Linked DNA regions of Homo sapiens: region 1 is linked to region 2. The links are contacts of gene promoters, found by promoter capture Hi-C in human tissues and cell types (Jung and others, 2019). All regions are on one chromosome and are shown on one strand. The core of a region is centred on a gene start or on the middle of the fragment in contact, and the rest is flanking DNA. Distances in the headings are between cores, read along the strand shown.

Region 1 (3,065 bases), core at 435-2,934, 35 kb before region 2:
TGTGGAGAGGAGGGAGCTTCCTTGCCTCCCCTACATGTTTGGCAGCATCTGTCTGTTAGAGGCCATATTTCTTTCCCTTCCTTTTCTTTTAAAAGTTTTGAAATACACATAGAGAAAAGTGCAGCAGCTGGAAGAATTCCCTCATGGTTCCATCATTCCTCTGCCATGAGACCAGCTTGTCCCAGATAGGGCCTGCCCCTTCACCCTGGGTCCCAGATGAGTTCGTGGGATAGAACCATAGCTAACTCGTAAAGTATGTTAAGTATGGCTGGGCATGGTGGTTCATGCCTGTAATCCCAGCACTTTTGGGAGGCTGAGGCAGGCAGATCATTTGAGGTTAGGAGTTTGAGACCAAACTGGCCAACATGGTGAAACCCCATCTCTACTAAAAATACAAAAAGGAAAAAAAAAATTAGCCAGGCATGGTGGTGCATGCATGTAACCCCAGCTACTTGGGAGGCTAAGGCAGGAGAATCACTTGAACCTGGGAGACGGGTTGCAGTGAGCCAAGGTTGTGCCACTGCACTCCAGTATAGGCCACAGAGCAAAAGTCCATCTCAGAAAAATAAGGTATGTTAAGTATGAACAAGAACTTTGTTCTGTAAGCCACTGAAATTTGGGGGTAACTTGTTATTGCAGCATAACCTAATAAGAGCTTACTAGTACATTTAATCCTTACAACAATAGGTGGAGTGGATTCTATCATTTTTCCTGTTTTGCAGGGGAACTTAGACTCAGATTAGTTCAGTAAGTTTATTTAGTTTACTCAGAAAGTGGCAGAGGCATGCTTCAAGTCCCAAACTCAGTTTTTCTGGCTCCAGAGCCTGTTCTCCTAAGAAGACGGAAGTACGTGGGCTGTATTTGGTGAATGATGAGTAATTCCGTGTGGATAGAACACCTGGTATGTGCATCATGGCAGACTTGTAGTATAGGTTTGGGGCAAATCCTGGAAGTCTTGAATGCTGTGTGGATTGTGTAGCTTCCCAGTGCCATATGGGGCCATAGACTCTACCTTTTGCCCACAACCCAGTTCCTTCCAAGGCTTGTTTAGCTTGTCCCAAATGCTGATGGAAATAGCTTCCTGAGGAAAAACAGCTTTTTGTGGGACTGTGAATTGTCTTCCTTCCAATGATTGTGGAAATGCCTCTTCTTTAGAAAGTCTTTCCACATTGGCTCGAGGAGAGTAAATGACTTTCCCCTGACCACCCCTGCTCAGCATAGGACCTCCCCAACCCCAAATGCATTTACTCTGCATCTGGAACTTTTTGCCTTCAGTTTTCATTTGGTTCCACATTTTCCTCTTCACTCTATCTCCATGTTTTTATTTGTCAGTATAACCTTCAGTTGTACTGGAAGGTAGTGCTTGCATGTACAATGAAATCTTCTGATTTTATTTGCAATCAAGTATAATTCAGCATTGAATCAATTCTGCTTACAACCCAGACCGTGCCTCTAACTCCAGTGCTGCATTAATTACCCTTCTCCTCAGCTCCCATAATACTCTGTGTATATCTCTGCCCTTACATTATGCTACGTTGTAATTATTGCACAATTGCCCCTTTACTTGCCTATCTATTCTGGTAGACTGGGAGTTTCAGCAAGGTCTGGGTTTAATTCATCTATGTTATGAGTCTACCGCACAGGATCTGGCCCTGAATAGGCAATTAGTAAAGAGTGTGTTGAATGAATAATAATTACTTATCTGTTTCATGTCCCCCCCACACTCTACTACCTGTAAGTTTCTTAAGGTCAAAGACTGTATCTTATTCAAATCCCCAGAGACAAGAACAGCATGGCATAGGAAATGAACTCAATAAATGTATATTTTGTTGGATAAGTGAGAGTAACGTTTCCTTCCAGGGGCATAACCCTTTAGAGTTACAAAGCACATTCCATATTTATTACCCAGTTGATTCTCACAAAATCTTTCCCCTCCCTCTCTAGGGTTCTCAAATCCTTATCATGTGCCTTTTGCCCCTCTTGCTTTCACTCACTTCATCTCTGTGTCTTTATGATCTCTCCTCTTTCCTCTTCAAATCCTCTTGGAAAAAGGTCTGAGGCACTTATCCCTCCCTCCAGTGTAGAGCAGCGTAAAGGGCAAAAATTGCACTCTGGCCTGCGTTGAACCAGGATCACATCCCACATGCCAGCTTTGTAATTATGGGCAGGTTCATTAACCCCTGAGCTTCAGCTTTCCCTTCTGAAAATGAAGACAATACTTACCTTCACTGGTGGTTGTGAAGATTACATGAAATGATGAGTGCTGAGCACCTCTCATAGGCTCTGGTTCAACTCGATAAATGGAAATTCCTGTCTTTATGTGGGAAGATGATTCTTTGAGGGTGGAATTTCAGGCACCAGCAAGCCAGTGGGAAGGAATTGTGGTTTGAAAACAACCACAGATAGGGATGCTTCGTAGTTCTAAAATCTCCCTTGTGAGCCCCACCTCTGCCCTAGGCAGGCCCAGTCCTCTGTGCTCAGTCAGCACCACGGACAGTTCCTGCACACGCCAGTTCTTTGCTGTGGACTTAATCGCATTTTAGAGGCCTTCAGTTGCAAGTCACAACTTTATATACCACCAAGGGAGCTAAAACATGTCAGAATTTAACTCTGACATGCCACTGGTTGCCATTCACATCTTAATTTTGGAGATGTTGAAAAAATGCTTGTCTTAGAATCGATGAAATAATGAGTTTACTAGAGGTGGTATCAGTGAGCAGTTGACCATTGACCTTTAGAGAGGTTAATAGTAATAGCCAGTATTTATTGAATGTCAACTGTATTACAGGCCTTTTCCCCTCCTTCCTGTCCTGTTCTGGGTGCTGTTTGCCCTGTATACACATTCTCTTAACAAAGATTACATTTGGGGAATATAAATGTGAGCCAGATATACAGTAAATCAACAGGCTTTCCACCATCTTTTTCCTCAAAATCTTCCAATCTTTAGCCTCACTTCTTCAGAACATTGCTTCCTGCTGAATGATAGTCTAACGTGTTAACCTTTCCAGTTCACACCGTGGTTAATCCACCTAAAAGGCATTTCAAATGCATACCCTGTAACCCAG
Region 2 (2,878 bases), core at 13-2,512:
GAAACTTTCTCCAAGGCACTGGCTTTCGGACTGGTGATCCAAGCCCCAGGGGGGGTGCCGGGACGTTCACAGCTGGAGCCTGGGGAGTGGCTGGCACCAAGCCTGGAGCCCTGCAGAGCCCACTTCTCTCCTTCCTGTTCCCCCAGGTTTAGGCTCAGCAGGTACCAGCCAGATGGTAGTCATGGCAACAGCTGGTGGTCCAGATGCTCCAAAGGAACTGCTCTGCATCCCTGAGGGCAGAGTCCAGAGCCTGTGGTTATCAGTCATTCCTTTAACAAGTATTTATTGATCATCTACTGCATGCTAGGCACGGGTCATACAGCAGTCCCTAAGACAGACTGGGTCCCCATTCTCATGGGGTAACAATAACAATTGCAATAATAAAAAAATGATCTTTTCTTTGTAGTGCTCTGTATGTGTCATGTTTTAGCACAGGCCTTGTCTGTGCATAGTCTGTCTCCTGAATAATAACTCTCACCACAGCCCTGAGATAAGGCCGATTAGCGACACTATTTTACAGAAGAGAAAACTCTGGCTCAGAGAGGTTGAGCAACTCGTCTAAGGTCACACAGCAAGTGTGAGGCAACCAGGCAAGGAAAAGCAAATCCAGCCACTTGGTCTCCCAGCCCCGCTTCACCTATCTCCAAGCCCCTTGGACGTTTTCTGAGCACTCCTGGGTCAGCCTTTTGGCAAACTCGATTTACTGATTCCTCCCGTCCCTGCCTGCGTGGGCTGACAGCTCCATTCAGCAGAGGGGGGCAAAGGAGACCAGGGAGACGAGGGAGGCGAAGGAGATGAGGGAGGCTCGGTGAGCCGAAATGACCCGTCCAAAGTAGCTCAGCTGGGCGGGGGCAGAGGTGGGACCGAAACCCAGAGGCGCCCCGGGACGGCTGGGGCTGGAGCGGGCGCGGAGGGAGGCTCCGGGCGGCTCACCGATGGTAGTGATGACGGTGATGGCGAAGTAGAAGGAGCCGGGGAACTTCCACTGGCGGCCGGCGCGGTGGGGCTCAGCCTGGAGCGCCAGGCGCTCCAGCTCGCGGTAGTCCTCGGCCGAGAAGCCGAACTTCCTCCGGAGAGCGCCCCGCTTCTGGACCAGCAGTCGCTGGCGGCCGCTTTCCGCCTCGGACTCGAGCGCGTCGAAGACAGCAGCGCCCACCAGCAGGTAACACAGGGTGCACAGGACCAGCCCGGCCGCGCGCACGCTCGGCCTCCGCATGGCGCCCCGGCCCCGGTACCCGCCGCGGTCCCAACCTGCTCCGTGTGCCCGGACCGCGCGCTCCGCCCCCTCCAACCCCGGCCCCACGCGGCAGGGTTGTGACGGGCGAGGCGGGGCGACTGCCGGGAACCTGGAGGCTGGGATCGCCACGGGTGGGGGCCGGAAGAACCGCTCCCCTGTCCGCCTCCCACTCGCCTGCCCGGGGTTCATGTGTCTGTGAATAGTGAGATCTGAAGCAAAGGCCCAAACCCCGGGCCTGCAGAAGTCCTGTTCCCGCCACTAACTCATGTTGTGACCTCGTGCCAGTCTTCCGTCCTTCCTTCCGTCCTTCCTTCCTTCCTTTTTCCCTCCCTCCCCTCCCCCCTCCCCTCCCTTCCTCCCTCCCTCCCTCCTTTCCTTCCTTCCTTCCTTTCACTCCTTTCCCCATCCCTCCCTCCCTTCTTCCCTCCCATCCTTCCTCCCTCCGTCCCTCCCTTCCTCCCTCCGTCCCTCCCTTCCTCCCTCCGTCCCTCCCTTCCTCCCTTCGTCCCTTCATCTCTTCTTCCCTTCCTTCTCTCCTTCCTTCCTTCTTTCATTCAGTCAGTCAATCCTCTGACAAATATTTACCAAGCACCTACTGGTGCAAACAACATTCCTGTTGTAAGTAAAAGTGATATCCTAGTGAGGAGGGCCAGCTAACAAACAAGAAACTAATTTAAGACAGGAGTGAGAAAGAAGGAAAAGGGATAGTTTCTTGGGGAAGGTGAACCCCACCATCTAAGGTGGTGCTTAAAACAGAACTGAGCATGACTTGGCAGCCAGAATAGCAGAGGAGCCGGTGTCGCTGGAGCCCAGAGAACTGGGGGGCAGATACTTTGGGGGAGCAGAAGGAAGGCAAAGAGGCAACTTCACACAGGGTCTTACAAGCCCTTATGTGGGTTTATTGAAAGCCATGGAAAGGCTGTATTACAAACACAGGCAAACAAACACACACGCAACACCACCACAATGATCTGATTCATATTTTTTAAAGAGCCCCTGGCTGTCATGGGGAAAAGGGATGGTGGCTAGGAGTGGAGGCCAGTTCGAAGGCTAGTGTAGTCCAAATGTGTGAAGATGGAGAGAAATGAGGGGATCCGGGATGCACCGGGGAGGTGGAGTTGGGCGCCCAGCTGGCCACATTGCCCAGCCTTTCTTGCACTTAGCAGGGTCTATGTGACCAAGCTTTAGCTCATGGAACATGGGCAGAAGTGACATATGCCACTTCCAGGCCTGGCCCATAAAACCCTGCCCTACACGTGCTCCATCTCTTTCCCCCACCAGACGGCTGAATGCAGAGAACTAAAGTCTTTAGAAGAGAGGGAGCCCACAAGGTGGGAAAAACCTGGGGCTGAATGACACATTGCAAGGTTGTCCCCCAACCCCCAATCAGGAGCCCCAGTTTTGAGCTTCTGTTGTATTAAGTCGCTGACGTATGTTAAGCCCCTGAGGCCCAGCCTGCCGCCTAGGCCCTCCAGGTCCCAGAGGAGGACATACTTCCATATGGAAGCCGCTAGAAAGGAACTCAGTCCTGCCAATACCTTGATTTGAGCCCAGTGAGACCTGTGTAGCCCTCCACCCTACAGAACTAGAAGATAATACATTTGCCTTAAGCCACTAAGTTTGTAATAACTTATTGCAGTG

What was found. The method cuts DNA at HindIII sites, captures the fragments that hold promoters and counts their contacts. A contact is called where the count stands out against the background at its distance.
Region 1: a contact is called between a fragment that was not itself captured here and the fragment with the promoter of KCNK15 in region 2, in 2 of the 25 tissues and cell types used here (H1 embryonic stem cells and psoas muscle).

Annotation. Positions count from the first base shown.
Region 1 is chr20:44,779,779-44,782,843 of GRCh38, reverse strand. All of the region lies in intron 1 of RIMS4 (regulating synaptic membrane exocytosis 4), which reads left to right. Among named protein-coding and RNA genes, the nearest start is that of RIMS4, 29 kb to the left of the region's middle. The HindIII fragment of the contact is 7,758 bases long and covers 1-3,065 here.
Region 2 is chr20:44,744,249-44,747,126 of GRCh38, reverse strand. It overlaps KCNK15 (potassium two pore domain channel subfamily K member 15), which reads right to left and starts at 1,262. Exons shown (of 2, transcript NM_022358.4): 1 at 934-1,262. The coding sequence starts at 1,216. It overlaps KCNK15-AS1 (KCNK15 and WISP2 antisense RNA 1), which reads left to right and starts at 900. Exons shown (of 5, transcript NR_132377.1): 1 at 900-1,162. The HindIII fragment of the contact is 14,439 bases long and covers 1-2,878 here.